Linked DNA regions of Homo sapiens: all the other regions are linked to region 1. The links are contacts of gene promoters, found by promoter capture Hi-C in blood cells and fetal thymus (Javierre and others, 2016). All regions are on one chromosome and are shown on one strand. The core of a region is centred on a gene start or on the middle of the fragment in contact, and the rest is flanking DNA. Distances in the headings are between cores, read along the strand shown. Region 1 holds the start of ZNF207 (zinc finger protein 207). Region 2 overlaps SUZ12 (SUZ12 polycomb repressive complex 2 subunit). Region 3 overlaps SUZ12 (SUZ12 polycomb repressive complex 2 subunit). Region 4 overlaps UTP6 (UTP6 small subunit processome component).

Evidence for each region. The method cuts DNA at HindIII sites, captures the fragments that hold promoters and counts their contacts. A CHiCAGO score of 5 or more calls a contact.
Region 2: a contact is called between a fragment that was not itself captured here and the fragment with the promoter of ZNF207 in region 1, in 2 of 17 cell types (erythroblasts and fetal thymus). The highest score is 12.8, in erythroblasts.
Region 3: a contact is called between a fragment that was not itself captured here and the fragment with the promoter of ZNF207 in region 1, in 1 of 17 cell types (erythroblasts). The highest score is 5.9, in erythroblasts.
Region 4: a contact is called between a fragment that was not itself captured here and the fragment with the promoter of ZNF207 in region 1, in 2 of 17 cell types (activated CD4 T cells and total CD4 T cells). The highest score is 5.1, in activated CD4 T cells.

The regions. Positions count from the first base shown.
Region 1 is chr17:32,347,635-32,351,664 of GRCh38, forward strand. It overlaps ZNF207 (zinc finger protein 207), which reads left to right and starts at 2,523. Exons shown (of 12, transcript NM_001098507.2): 1 at 2,523-2,692. The coding sequence starts at 2,652. MIR632 (microRNA 632) reads left to right here and starts at 2,475; the gene lies at 2,475-2,568. It also overlaps a transcript of C17orf75 not described here. RefSeq lists enhancers at 1,973-2,092, 2,263-2,612. The HindIII fragment of the contact is 13,651 bases long and covers 1-4,030 here.
Region 2 is chr17:31,943,901-31,947,601 of GRCh38, forward strand. All of the region lies in intron 3 of SUZ12 (SUZ12 polycomb repressive complex 2 subunit), which reads left to right. Among named protein-coding and RNA genes, the nearest start is that of SUZ12, 8.7 kb to the left of the region's middle. The HindIII fragment of the contact is 1,554 bases long and covers 635-2,188 here.
Region 3 is chr17:31,964,521-31,968,499 of GRCh38, forward strand. SUZ12 (SUZ12 polycomb repressive complex 2 subunit) reads left to right here. Exons shown (of 16, transcript NM_015355.4): 5 at 1,627-1,676. Among named protein-coding and RNA genes, the nearest start is that of SUZ12, 30 kb to the left of the region's middle. The HindIII fragment of the contact is 3,490 bases long and covers 864-3,979 here.
Region 4 is chr17:31,862,118-31,865,942 of GRCh38, forward strand. It overlaps UTP6 (UTP6 small subunit processome component), which reads right to left. Exons shown (of 19, transcript NM_018428.3): 18 at 3,249-3,321; 19 at 1-1,399. The coding sequence ends at 1,242. Among named protein-coding and RNA genes, the nearest start is that of COPRS, 4.8 kb to the left of the region's middle. The HindIII fragment of the contact is 3,468 bases long and covers 331-3,798 here.

The sequences.
Region 1 (4,030 bases), core at 1,273-3,772:
TAATACTCAGTGTCTGATGAGGGCATTCTTGCTGCATCCTCATTTGGTTGAGGCAAGAGAGAGTAGAGTTTAGTTCCTTCCAGCACTTTAATAAAATCACTAATCCCCCCCCACCCAGTTTACTCATGATTTAATCACCTGCTAAAGGTCCCAACTCTTAATGCTATCACATTGGTGATTACGTTTCAAGCAGTTGGGGGGATATTCAGCACATTGCAATACGGTTTTAAACTTTTTCATTTTTCAATTTATTTTTTCATAGAGATGGTCTCACTATGGTGCCCAGGTTGGTCTCACACTCCTGGCCTCAAGCCACCCTCTTGCCTCAGTCTCCCAAAGCACGGCAATTACAGGCTTGAGCAACTGCACCCAGCCTGAACTTTTTTTTTTTTTTTCTTTTTGAGACAGAGTCTTGCTCTGTCGCCCGGACTGGAGTGCAGCAGAGTGATCTCGGCTCACTGCAGCCTCCGCCTCCCGGGTTCAAGCGATTCTCCTGCCTCAGCCTCCGGAGTAGCTGGGATTACAGGCGTGCCCCACCACGCCTGGCTAATTTTTTTTTGGTATTTTTAGTAAAGACCGGGTTTCACCATGTTGGCCAGGCTGGTCTTCAACTCCTGATCTCAGGTGATCCACCCGCCTCAGCCTCCCACAGTGCTGGGATTACAGGTGTGAGCCACTGCGCACAGCCCAAACTGATCCTTTAAAATTCAAATTTAATTCAGCTCCACACATACTTTGTGTTTTGGGGCAAATTATTCCAGCTCTCTTAAGTCTCTTTTATCTCATCTCTATTAACAAGTTGACAATAATGGCTCCTACCCCAGAGGCTGAGACAAATAATGTTAAAACTCACTACAATGCTTGGCACACGGTAGGTGCTCCATGGATGTCTGCTATTATTTTTTGCTTTTAATAGTAACATAATTTACATTACTAGTTATTATTATATGCTAAGCTCTGTTTTAAGTGCAGCCAAGATGAAGTTTAACTGCCTTGCCCAAAGTCAGGCAGCTAAGCAGTGGCACTGGTGGACTATGAACCCAAGCACTGGACTTTTAACCACCTCTCACTTGCATGATCCTCCAGTTGCCCTCTTAGAACCACTGTGCCTTCTCAGAGACTTCAGCTGAAATCCAACTTCTGAGAATGCTTCTAGGGTTCGCCAGAACCCGCCTTTGCTAGCCTCCCTAGGATTATCTCTTGTGACCAGCACCTTCACTGACAGCTCCAGTCTTTTTTTTTTTTTTTTGAGACGGAGTCTCACTCTGTCACCCAGGCTGGAATGCAATGGCGAGATCTCGGCTCACTGCAACCTTCACCTCCCAGGTCCAAGTGATTCTCCTGCCTCATTCTCCCGAGTAGCTGAGGTTACAGGCGCCTGCCACTACGCCTGGCTAATTTTTGTATTTTTAGTAGAGACAGGGTTTCACCATGTCGGCCAGGCTGGTCTCGAACTCCTGACCTCAAGTGATCCGCCTGCCTCGGCCTTGGCCCATAGTGTTGGGATTACTGGCGTGAGCAACCGCGCCCGGCTATCAGCTCCAGTCTTACCACGATTAGTTTTTCACGTGCCCAGCCTCAAAGACTTAAACTCTTTGCTCCCTTACGGAGATACCCTTTCCTTCACCTTGCTTGCTCCCGTTGACTCCTCAAGAAACCTTTCTTATGTCGGGCGCAGCGGCTCAAGCCTGCAATCCAGCACTTTGGGAGGCCGAGGCGGGCGGATCACTTGAGCCCAGGAGTTCGAGACCAGCCTCGCTAACATGGTGAAACCCCATTCTACTAAAAATACAAAAATTAGCCGGGCTTGGTGGCGCGGGCCTGCAGTCCCAGCTACTCGGGAGGCTGAGGTAGGAGAATCGCTTGAACCCGGGAGACGGAGGTTGCAGTGAGCAGAGATCGCGCCGCTGCACTCCAGCCTGGGAGACAGAGCGAGACTTGGTCTCAGAAAAATAAAACAAAACAAAGAAAAACAAAACTTTACTTGACAACCCAACGACCACTACCACTACAGCCGCCCTAGGACTCCCGCTCTCTGAGGTCCTACAGCACTTCGCATTTCCCTCAACGCCGCACTGAGAACTCTGCATTGTGTACTCGTCTGTCACCAATCTGCGAGTTACAAAGCAGAGACTAACTTATTTGGTTTAGCATTTAATAGGCACATAATCAACATTTACTGTTCAATTGAAACAAAATTAAAATTGGGCGCTGTCTCTATCTTTATTTGTGATCGGCCCTAACTGCACTGGCAATCTTTTCCGTTTTTTTGTTTTCTGTTTTCCATTCGCATGCCCCTTAGCGTACCTGGGGCTCCGGCTCCTTTACAAATGAAACCCAAAGTGCTCCGCAAGCACAGCCAGCGAAAGCGAAAAACTCTGAAACGGACAAGATGGCTGCCACCTCTTCGCGCCTCTTAGTCCCACCCACTCAGGGCGGAGGTCTGCGTCATGTGACCCTCCCCTTCTTGGCTCCGCCTCCTACCGCAGTGCTTGACGGGAGGCGGAGCGGGGAACGAGGCCGTCGGCCATTTTGTGTCTGCTTCCTGTGGGACGTGGTGGTAGCCGTTGGGTTGGGAAAGTGAGGGATTTTTGGCCTCGTTTCTCCTGCTTCTTTTCTCCTCCCTTTTACTTTGCCGGTAGAACACAGTTATGGGTCGCAAGAAGAAGAAGCAGCTGAAGCCGTGGTGCTGGTATCCTTTGTCGGTTTGAAGTCGAGGTCGCGTTGGGGTGCCGGTTGTTGGGGCCTGGGACTAGGAGGCCTGGATTTGGCTTACGGCGTGGAGCGTTTGTATTTAGGCGTCTGCGTGGGTGGCCTGGTGGCTGGGATTGGACTTGGGAAGGCTTCTAGGAAAATGGGGTTCCGAGGTCGACAGGCTTTTGCAGTTGTGGGTCGTGTGACTCTGTGACTCAGGAGGATCTTGTTCGGTGCGAATTTTGGACTCCGGGAGGCGGCCTGGACCCCTCCGCCAGGGACAGTGTCCCCTAGGGACTATTCAGCCACCTTCCGTTGTTTTGGTGACGATTCAACAAGGGACTTTTCTTCGAGTGCGATAGGCTTATTACTTTCATGGAGGGTTGGGGACAGCTTCACAGTCTGTCACCCACTTTTTCTGTTTTTATTTACTTTATGTGTGTTTTGTGTTTATTTTTTCGAATTGGCGGTTTAGTAAAGAACCAAGTTAGTCAACCCTGGTTTCGAACCTTTTTTTTTTTTTTTTTCTTTTCGGGGCGGGAGGAGAACTAGCTTCCGTGTCTCACCCAGAGGCGCCTTAATCTTCAGGAAGCGTTCTCACAGGGCGGAGTTTCTGTTACCCAACTTTGTAGGACTAAAAAGTGCCTATCTTATTAGGAAAACTCTTACTACAGTGTGGTATTAATGCTTTTTCTGGAAGCGTTAATATTCTTTACATTAAAATTGATTTTATTTACTGTTTTGTACGTAAAGGCGGCTTGTTACAGTACTGCGTTTATGTAACAGTTTTAAAAATAGCTTAAATACGGTTACGAATTTTGTAATGTGATTTTAGGAAAATCTGAGTAGTGAGGTAAGAATTCTGTTTTATTGATGTAAGAATTCTGCTTTATTGATTTTATTGATCTGTGAATTTAAATACATTGCTTGGCAACATAAATTCATACGGAATTGGAAACAACTTTATGGATTGTTCATTCGAAATTATGTGATTATTGTTCACCATATAGTTACTCTTAGATTCTAAATATTGCTAAATTCCTAATCCAGTTATTGCTATCGTCTTCATATCTAGTGAAGTAATTGTCTTGACAGAACCTTAGGGATTTCTTAACTGAACTCTTTCCTGTCCTCAGTGTGCATTTGTAAATGTTGAAATATTTATAACAAAAGTTTCACCGACATCTCTGTTAAACACAGGAATTTGACAAAGTATATTGCTGATTATTGAGATGTGTTTTTTGGGGTGGTGAAGAGAGCTGGCCTTCTAGGAAATTGAAAATACTGAAATAACATGGCAAGTGTAGTCCCTAATTGTGTAATAAATATAAAAAGC
Region 2 (3,701 bases), core at 162-2,661, 400 kb before region 1:
TTGGTCAGGCTGGTCTCAAACTCCTGACCTCATGATCCGCCTGCCTTGGCCTCCCAAAGTGCTGGGATTACAGTCGTGAGCCACCGTGCCTGGCCATCAAAGCATTTTTAATATAGAAGGTCAGTTGAGTTGCTGCCTAGGATGCAACCTGATCTTAATTTACAAAGTAATTAAATTATTATAAAATAAGTTTGCATTCATAGATTAAAAAGTACACATTTATTTTATTATTATTATTTTTTTTTGAGATGGAGTTTCGCTCTTGTTGCCCAGGCTGGAGTGCAATGGTGCAATCTTGGCTCACTGCCACTTCCACCTCCTGGGTTCAAGTGATTCTCCTGCCTCAGCCTCCCGAGTAGCTGGGATTACAGGCATGCGCCACCATGCCTGGCTCATTTTGTATTTTTAGGAGAGATGGGGTTTCTCCATGTTGGTCAGGCTGGTCTCGAACTCCCGACCTCAGGTGATCTGCCCACCTCGGACTCCCAAAGTGCTGGGATTACAGGTGTGAAACACCACGTCCTGCTAAAAAGTACACATTTAAAATCTAAGTTCCATTTTCCCGTCATGTTTATTAATTTGTCCCATTGCAGGATATGTTTCTGTTGTCCGCATGGGTAGAGATAATTTTAAAAGCTTGGTTAAGTAAGAACTGATTTTCTTAATTATTGCCCTTTAGGTTAAAAAAAAAAAGTCTGGGGAATTTTTAAGCAATCTGCCAGCCAAGAAGCAAATTTAAGTCCCACCTAGTTTAGTTCCTACAGAAATGGGTAGGAATAGGCTAGGCATGGTGTTTCAGACCTGTAATTTCAGCATTTCGGGAGACTGAGTTAGGAGGATTGCTTGTGTAACATTTAGTACTTAACCTTACGTAATTATGAATGCAAGTTTTTTGTCCTGGGTGCAAGATTATATTTATTTGAGCGTATCAAGTGAACAAGTTTACATTTAAAGGCGAGAGTTATAGGTCAGCCCTGGCAACATAGTGAGACCCTATATCTACAAAAATTTTAAAAAATTAGCTGGGCGTGGTGGCTCATGACTATAGTCCCAAATACTCAGGAGGCTGAGGCAGGAGGATCACCTGAGCCCAGAAGTTCGAAGGTTGCTATGAATGTGCCGGTGCACTCTAGCCTGGGCAGTAGAGGGAGATGGTGTCTCAAAAAAAAAAAAAAAAAAAAAAAGTATGGGAATCATTTAATCATCTTGTTAGATGCCTGATCTTATTACTTATTAGGACTAATTATTAAGAAATTAAAGCACAACTCATTTGCTGTTGTCTTCAGCGTAGTTGGTGACTTTGGAAGGTGGCAGATTTAGCCCAGTGATTGTCGTTTCTCAAAATGTTTTCAGAACTCGTTTTTTACTATTACAACAACATAATATCCATTGTTGGAATAAGCATATCACTCCCTTTAAAGTCATACTCTCAGTCGTGATATTAATTCTGGTATATTTATTAAAGTCAGCTTGTGCTTTACTCTTTCTAGAAGTATTCAACTTCTATAGGCTAACACTGCCCCAACAAAGTAAAAATATAGGTCACGAGAAGGGCATCTTTTATTGAATCCATTTTGCTAGATTTCGTGTGAGCTGTTTCTGAAGTCTCCCAAGAAAATTTTCTGAAATTTCTTGAATTTTTAAATATGCTCCTTTTCGATGACCTTTTGATAATTATTTCCTTCTTTAAATCTGACCTACAGTAACATTACCTTTCTAAAGAACAGAAATCCTTGGTGTTGGGGGAGGAGCAGCTTTTATATAGTTGCTTATGAGGTTGGTTTTGTTTTTTTCCTAAGGAAGGCTGGGTTGCTTTTGTGATCTTATCTATTTCAAATGGTTAATCAATTCTATTCACTTCTCCTGTATACAGCTTCATAAAGGTAGAAGAGATGAACCTTAGAACGTACAGTCTTTTTCTGCAGACAGAATTTCTTAATCATTACATAAACATTATTCGGAAAAGTTTTCAGTAGTTTCATGGCCCTCCTCAATAGTAACTTTCAGTATTTATACTGAATAGCTCTTTGCAACTAGCCTAAAAGAGTCCTTTATTTTTGTTCTTTTTTCTCTCTTATCTGTGGAGATTGAAAATATATTGCCATCCTTCAGAAAGCGCTTCTTACTATACTCTATTGGATGAAACTTTAATATTGAAGTTTTCAGTAACTCTAAAGGTAAAGAGAGAAGCTTTTTTTCCCTTAAGATCTTTACTATGGAGGCTCTTCTCATTCACTTGAAATATAGATTGTATCAATTCTGCTCTAATATCAGTAGTTTACTATATTTACATTAACATTTCTCTACTGATAATTTTTACAGTAGTTGAATACAATAAATAGCTCTTTTTTGGCCAGGCATGGTGGCTCACACCTTTAATCCTAGCACTTTGGGAGACAGGGGTGGATAGATCACCTGAGGTGAGGAGTTCAAGACCAGCCTGACCAACATGGTGAAACCCTGTCTCTACAAAATGCAAAAATTAGCCAGGCGTGGTGGTGCACACCTGTAGTCCCAGCTACTCGGGAGGCTGAGGCAGGAGAATTGCCTGAACCCGGGAGGTGGAGGTTGCAGTGAGCCGAGATCACGTCATTGTACTCCAGCCTGGGCAACAAGAGTGACACTCCCATCTCAAAAACAAAACAAACAAAAACAAACAAACACAAAACTCTCTTTGAGGAATGAGATTATTCGTAATTTTTGGTGTCTGCATTCAAGCATTATAAAGTAATAAATTGATGTGGAGTACATTTGGCTTTTCAAGTCCTAAAGAGGAAGGGACTATATGAGTATAAAGAGAAACATTTTTTCTAATTAAATTATATATGGGTATAGATTTTTAGACTCTTATCTCTAGAACATGTCATAGACCACCTTAAGAACTAAGATGAGGCTTGTTTTTACAATCCATTCATTCTTTAATTGCTTTGAGAAGTTATACTTAAGTTTCTATTTTTTGGGAAATAGCTTTTTTCTCTTAAACTTGTCAAGTTAAAAGGTAGTAGTTTTATTACGATTTGATGGATCATTCCCTAACTTCAAAATTTTTTCATGATGTCAACAACTGTCTCTTTAATATGACATATCATTGAGCTTTAGGCTTTGCTGATAATCTTTGAGGATACCTTGTGAACTTCAAATATATTTTATAGAATATTTCTTTTTTTATGTGATGGTGCTAGTACATATTTGTTGTGTTGCTTAGTAGACGTGTTAAGTGTTTCAGAATACACATAATTTATATTTGTTTGGCTTAATTCAACAGATACTTGAATACCTACCAAGTATAAGGCACTATGCCAGCACTGCATAGCTTTCCTTGAAGAAGAGCAATTACTGCCCTTCAGGAATATATAATCTAGTAGGAGAAATAAAATATTTACATGAGTTTTACGTGTAGGAAACTGAATGAAAAGTAAGTGTCAAAATAAATATAAACCAAGTACCATGGGTAAGGAGAAATCACTGGTTTGGGAATAATTGGGTAAAAGGTTTAATGAAAACAAGTTAGCGTTTTAGATGGGGCTTGAAGGCTCGTGTGCTGTATTATACACCGTCTCCATAGTATTCATTGTTATGGCTAATCATCCATAATTTATCTTACTAAAAATAATCAAAATCTGGTTTCCATCTTGCCTATTAGAGTGACAATAAAGTATAATTTGTTTCTTTTTCCCAGTTGAGAAGTGATTATTTTGTTT
Region 3 (3,979 bases), core at 1,359-3,858, 380 kb before region 1:
CTCGGCCTCCTGAGTAGCTGAGACTACAGCCATGTGCCACCATACCCAGCTAATTTTTGTATTTTTAGTAGAGACTGGGTTTCACCATATTGGCCAGGCTGGTCTCGAACTCCTGACCTGGTGATCCCCTGCCTCGGCCTCCCAAAGTGCCAGGATTACAGACGTGAAGCACTGCACCCGGCCCACACTGTAGTTTTTTTAGCAGACAGTTTCATGGCCTACTTCACTAAGTAGATGGAGATATCCCCCCATCTTCCATGGAAATGTCTTTCTTACTTGCCTCTTATTTCTCTATCTTAGAAAAAGAGGAATCCAGTCGGGCTCGGTGGCTCACACCTATAATCCCAGCTACTTGGGAGGCTGAGGCAGGAGAATCGCTTGAACTCGGGAGGCGGAGGTTGTAGTGAGCCAAGATTGCGCCATTGCACTCCAACCTGGGCGAGAAGAGCGAAACTTCATCTCAAAAAAAAGAAAAAGAGGAGTCCTGGTCAAATTTACAGGGCAACCTCTTCATAATATGTCCTTATTTCCAGTCATTACTTGTTCCTTAGTACTCTCTTGCCACAATGTCTTTCTGTAACTGTTCCCATCTGACTATAAAAATGCCTAGATTGTCACCATCATTTAAAAAAAAAATATATATATATGCCCTTTACTAGTCCTTAGTGCCCAGCAACTATTTCATTAGTAAATGCCTTATGTAAGGGATCAGTACTGCTTTCCTTTCCCCACCATCTGTTCTGTATAGCCCTCCATAATCTGGTGTCTGTACATGTCACACTATGGAAACTATGCTCAGGAGAGTTATGAATGTCTCCTGATCAACAACTGTATTGTGTTTTGCAGTTTAAAGGTACTTCAAAAGCTTATTGATGCTTCTGTTTATTTTATCCCATGCTTATTGTTTTTTTCTATTGTTAATAGATGTTTGTGAAAATAGAAGGAGCACTAGTTCTAGTTCATGCTTGCTTTTGCTTTTCCATAGCTTCTAAAACTAACAGTGAAAATGATATATTGAAACAGTAAATTATAGATCTATACCAGATTTGTAATTGTGTATTTCATTGCTATTTGAAGTATAAAGTAATGGTTCTGTATCATTTATTGGGAAGGTTGAATTTCCATAGCTTCAAAATATTCAAATTTTTTTGCATGGATTTAGCTACGCTTTTCAAAATTTCCTTTTGATGAAGTCATTGACTAAAGCGTCATTAAAACAAAACAAAAAAAGAATTCCAAAAACCCTCCAAAATTCCTTTTTAAAGATAGGAAGGCATACCTGCTGTCATTTTATAGGTAGAACACTAAAACACAGTAAATTACCTGGCCTCCAACTTGGTAGTCTGATTTTTTTCTGCCTTGGTCTGGTGTTTTTGTGGTTTTGTTCTTACTTTTTGTGAGTTGTGAGGGGTTTTTTGTTGTTTATTTTTTGTTAGGTGTATAGACACACTTTTGGATGTCATATTTAACAGGGAAAGCATAGAGTCATGGGCCTGAATAACAGTTGAGTACAAATATTTATAAATTGGTTGAAGTAACTTTGATTTCAATGTTATATTTTAAAGTCTAGGTTATTTTACTACAGAGCATTACAATGATAAAATATTTCCTTTTTTTTTTTTTTAGCTTGTCAGCTCATTTGCAGCTTACGTTTACTGGTTTCTTCCACAAAAATGGTATGTATTTAAAAGTAAATAAAGTGGCATTTTAATAGCAAGATACCTTTGTGAATGTAAAAAAAGTGGGGCTTCTGAGTGTAAATTTATAAAATTAAGTTTAATGGAAAATATGTTGGTTCTGATGTTTTTGAACTTTAAGGTATGAAGGCTAATGATGAAATTTGTTTTTGGTGGATGGGGGTGCAGAGTGAAGGCTGGAGTGCAATGTTATGATCTTGGCTGACTGCAGCCTCCACCTCCCGGGTTCAAGCGATTCTCCTGCCTCAGCCTCCTGAGTAGCTGGGATTACAGGCACGTGCCCCATGCCTGGCTAATTTTTTGTATTTTTAGTAGAGACAGGGTCTCACCATGCTGGCCAGGCTGGTCTTGAACTCCTGACCTCGTGATCCACCCGCCTTGGCCTCCCAAGGGGGCGTGAGCCACCACGCCTGGCTAATGATGAAGATTTTAACAAATTGTCTTAGAACTTCAATAGGTAAAGAATCTCCTCAGTAGAACCTTTTATGCATAAACATTTTGAATTAATGATACTGTATCATGTTTTAAAAAAACACAGTAAAACAACTGAAATAACCACTATTACCAATGGCATATATTAATATTTTAGATATTATTCAAAGGAAATTATATGGTATATTACTCCAGTAAAAGCTCAAAGCATGCTGGAAAGAATTAGAGTTGTTTTAAAAATGGAAAAATACGGCCAGGCGCAGTGGCTCACGCCTGTAATCCCAACATTTTGGGAGGCTGAGGCGGGTGTATCATGAGGTCAGGAGTTCAGGATGTTCAGGAGTTCAGGAGTTCAGCTGGCCAATATGATGAAACCCCATCTCTACTAAAAATATAAACATTAGCCAGGCGTGGTGGTGGGTGCCTGTAGTCCCAGTTACTTGGGAGACTTAGGCAGAAGAATCACTTGAACCTGAGAGTCGGAGGTTGCAATGAGCTGAGATTGCGTTACTGCACTCCAGCCTGGGCGACAGAGCGAGACTCCATCTCAAAAAAAAAAAAAAAGGGAAAATCACTTATCAGCTTATCCATCATAAGTCTGTGTATATGGCATATCTTTTTATTATGCAATGGAATAAAACCATTATTAGAAACATGCCAGGTTGGTTGTCTTGGTATCGTTTAGTAAGAAACAAAGATTGAAAATGAGTCCTGGTGGGCCGGGCACGGTGGCTCACGCCTGTAATCCCAGCACTTTGGGAGGCTGAGGCGGGTGGATCACAAGGTCAGGAGATCGAGACTATCCTGGCTAACATGGTGAAACCCCGTCTCTACTAAAATACAAAAAAACTAGCTGGGTGTCGTGGTGCACACCTGTAGTGTCACCAGTGGCACTCCAGCCTGGTGACAGAGCGAGACTCTGTCTAAAAAAAAAGAAAAAGAAAATGAGTCCTGGCCTGGTGGCTCATGTCTGTAATCTCAGCATTTTGGGAGGCTGAGGTGGGAAGATGACTTGAGGCCAGGACTTCAAGACCAGCCTGGGCAACACAGACCCCATCTCTACAAAAATTAGCCAGGTATGGTGGTATGTCCTGTAGTTCTAGGTACTTGGAAGTCCAAGATGGCAGGATGGCGTAAGCTCAGGAATTCAAGGTTACAGTGAGCTATGATTGCACAACTCTACTCCAGGCTGGGCAACAGAGTGAGACCTTGTCTCCAAAAAATCCCAAATATTAGACTGGGCGTGGTGGCTCACAGCTATAACGTCAACACCTTGGGAGGCTGAGATGGAAGAATAGCTTGAGGCTTGCCTGGGCAACATAGGGAGAACCTGTCTGTAAGAAGTAAAAAAAGATTAACTGGGCACAGTGGCACATGCCTGTAGTCCCAGCTATTCTGTAGTCTCAGCTACTCAGGAGGCTGAGGTGGGAGGATTGCTTGAGTCTTGGAGGTTGAGGCTGCAGTGAGCCAAGATCACACCACTGTACTCCAGCCTGAGTGACAGAGTGAGACACTGTCTAAAAAAGACAAAAAGACAACCTTGCCAATTGGCCAATTGTCAAAATGCTCTAATATAACCATTTTTTAATGACTCTTTGGGGGTTGTTTGTTTGTTTAGACAGGGTCTTGCTCGTGTCACCCAGGCTGGAGTGCAGTGGTGTGATCAACTCCTGGGCTCAAGTGATCCTCCTGCCTCAGCCTCCTGAGTAGCTGGAACTACAGGCGTTCCCACCATGCCTGGCTAATTAAAAAAAATTTTTTTTGTTAAGATGGAATCTCACTACATTTCCCAGGCTGGTCTCAAACTCCTGGTCTCAAGTGATCCTCTCACCTCAGTCTCCCAAAGTGCG
Region 4 (3,825 bases), core at 815-3,314, 490 kb before region 1:
ACCCCCGCACTACTAAAAATACAAAAATTGGCTGGGCGCGGTGGCGGGTGCCTGTAATCCCACCCAGCTGCTCGGGAGGCTGAGCCAGAACCACTTGAACCCGGGAGGTGGAGGTTGCAGTGAGCCGAGATGGAGCCACTGCACTCCAGCCTGGATGACAGAGCAAGGCTCCATCTCAAAAAAAAAAAGACAGTCTAACCAGAGGATTAGTAAAATATATTATGGCTCATTTTTACAATGTAATGTTACGAATTCATTAAATGTTTTTAAGGCTATTTAATGACACAGAAAAACAATACTAAGTGAAACGTAACAATAAGCTACACTGAAAGCTTCTCCCAGTGACAGGATGCTTTTTTTTACCACACTATTCTATTTCCTCCATATTTTCCAGAACAAATGCATACCACGTATCTTTTATAATGAGAATAAACCAACAAAACTGTACTTTCTCCTTTTTTTTTTTCCTTGAGAAGGAGTTTCGCTCTTCTTACCCAGGATGGAGTAGCAATGGCATGATCTCGGCTCACTGCAACCTCCGTCTCCCAGGTTCAAGCAATTCTCCTGCCTCAGCCTCCCAAGCAGCTGGGATTACAGGCACCCACCACCACACCTGGCTAATTTTTGTATTTTTAGTAGAGACGGGGTTTCACCATGTTGGCCAGGCTAGTCTCAAACTCCTGACCTCAGGTGATCCGCCTGCCTCAGCCTTCCCAAAGTGCTGGGATTACAGGCGTTGAGTCACCATGCCTGGCCACTTTCTCCTTCATTTTAACTGGCTCTTAGGTCGAGATTAGAGATACTCATGCTTGACCTGGGATAATTTTAAAAAAACCCAGTCGTATGCTATCCATGTATTTTGGGAAACATTTAGGACCTGTGGAAGATCGGGCCTCAACATTAAATCAGCAATTCTCTTTACTGGAATCAGATTAGCACATCAAACTGAGCAGTGTCATGCACCTATAATCCCAGCTACTCAGGAGTCTGAGGTGAGAAGGTCACTTGAGTCCAGGAGTTCAAGACCAGCCAGGGCAACAGAGCAAGACCCAGTCTCAATCATAAAAATTTTTTAATTTTTAAAAAGATTTAACAAGTTAACATAAAATTAAAGTGTGTCTCAAAACCAGACAGCCATCTTGTCTGCCATCACTGAGCAAATTACAGATGGACTCAATACAAATTTGCCCACGGGGCTTGCTTGCAATACTATTTCACAAAGCTGACTGTATTCTTCATCTTCATAAATGGCCAGTCTGATGCATAGCATGTTTAGCTACAAATGCCTCTGCTGACTCTCCCTGCAACATTTTCATCGCTCGCCAGTAGATCTGTCCACAGTTCTCAGGTCTACCAAGGGGGTGGTTCAATTCTTCTTTCATATAATCCATCCAAAGATCTTTTAAAAAAAAAACATACAATTAGATAACTGACAGAGTGTTATTAGGTAACCTTATTAAATATCAATTCAACTCAAGATTTCTAAGAAACTTAACTTCTCATTGTTACTTCCCTAGGACGCTTTGTTTAACAATACCTCTCTTAGCTTCTTTAAAGTATAGTGGCAGGTTTTGGTTTGTTTTTGTGTGTTTTTTTCTTTTTTGAGACAGGGTCTCACTGTGTTGCCCCGGCTAGAGTGTAGTAGCGGGAACATGGCTTACTACAGTCTCAACCTCCTGAGTTCAAGTGACCCTCCTGCCTCAGCCTCCAGGGCAGCTGGGAACACAGGCACACCACCATATTAGGCTAATTTTTTTATTTTTTGTAGAAACAGGGTTTCACTATATTGCCCAGGCTAGTCTTGAACTCCTGGGCTCAAGCAATCCTTCTACCTTGGCCTTCCAAAGTGCTGGGATTACAGGCGTGAGCCACTGTGCCTCATCAGTTTTGTTTTTTTGTTTTTTGTTTTTTTTCCCAGTAGAAAACCTTCACATCAATCATAAAAGTCTATTTTATTCAATGAACTCAAAAATACTAAACTTTTTGGCTAGGCACAGTGGTTCACACCTGTAATCCCGGCACTTTGGGAGGCCAAGGCGGGCGGATCACCTGAGGTCAAGAGTTCAAGACCAGCCTAGCCAGCATGGCGAAACTCCATCTCGACTGAAAATACAAAAATTAGCCGAGCATGGTGGCACGCGTGCCTGTACTCCCAGCTACTTGGGAGGCTGAGGCACGAGAATCGCTTGAATCTGGGAGGCAGAGATTGCAGTGAGGCAAGATTGCGCCACTGCACTCCAGCCTGGGTGACAGAGTGAGACTCTGTCTCAAAACAAAATAAAAATAAACAAATCAATGTTTATGAGTTCACAAAGTCCACAGATTTTACATGACATACCTATACCCAGAAGTATGTTGTACAAGTCCTACAAATGAGGGCAATGTGGAGATAGTCAACAACAGACGCCAATTAGCATCTCACGTTTACCCCTTTCATGTAACTCTAAATACATTTTTTTTAAGAAAACAAAACCATGCAAATCTTTCTCTAATCCAGAGGGGGTGTTTTTGGTTTTTGTTTTTGAGACAGGATCTCATTGTATTGCCCAGGCTGGAGTACAATGGTGGCATCACAGTCATTGCAGCCTCAACATCCTGGGGCCCAAACAATCCTCGCACCTCAGCCTGCTGTGTAGCTGGGACCACAAGCATGCACCACCATACCCAGTTACTTTTTTTTTTTTATTGTTTGTAGAGATGGGGATCTAAATATGTTGCCCAGGCTGGTCTCAGGCTCCTGAGAAATCTAGGGTTCTTAACAGACGACCCATGGACCCCTGAACTTATGATCCTGAAATGATAGTATACACAAAGCAAGTGAGGAGGCAGAGGAAGGAAACAAGTTTTATTTTAAAAGAGGGTTATGATGCAAATCAAAAAACTAAGAAACAGTTTTGTTTGTTTGTTTGTTTGTTTTTGAGACGGAGTTTCACTGTTGTTGCCCAGGCTGGAGTGCAATGGTATAATCTCAGCTCACTGCAACCTCCGTCTCCCAGGCTCAAGCGATTCTCCTGCCTCAGCCTCCCAGGCAGGGATTACAGGTGCGCACCACCATGTCCAGCTAATTTTTATTTTAGTAGAGACGGGGTTTCACCATATTGGCCAGGCTGGTCTCGAACTCCTGACCTCAGGTGATCCGCCTGCCTTGGCCTCCCAAAGTGCTGGGATTACAGGCATGAGCCACTGTACTCAGCCAAGAAACACTGTTCTAACCATACTAATTGGTCACAAATTAAGGGTTTACTTACCAGAATCTGCGGATCCAAACTCTCTCAAAGCTCTCTCATAATATTCTCTTATGTTCGCCATATTGCAGGATTCCTGACAAAGATAGACAATCTTGTCTCAAAAGCCTGATTTATAACATAACAAATTCATTCCAACCATATTGTTAAGCAGCTACTGTCTGTCAGGTATTTGAAGGGAAGAGTTTAACATGAACACAACTTGGCTCTCAACTTTTCTAGGAAAAAAATCAAAGCCACTCAACAGAGTGAAGTACATATGTGAAACATAAAAGCACTTTGCTGTAGTAGCATGGAGAAAAGTGCTATTAGAAAAAAGTGGGGGACATGGGCAGCTTCACAGAAAACAGTATTTGAAAGTCTTGAGGAATGAGTGGGAATTAAATAAAGAAACAGCGAAGGTTCTATTCGCTTTGAGTAAGGATTTCTTCCTTTTGAATATCTGGGCTCTGGTACTTATTTGTTATATCCACCTTAAAATAAATACTAGTTATATGACCTTCAGCAAGTTTTTGAACCCTTTGACCTTAAACATTTCCTCACCTATAAAACAAGCTTTAATATCTCTTAGCACAACTAT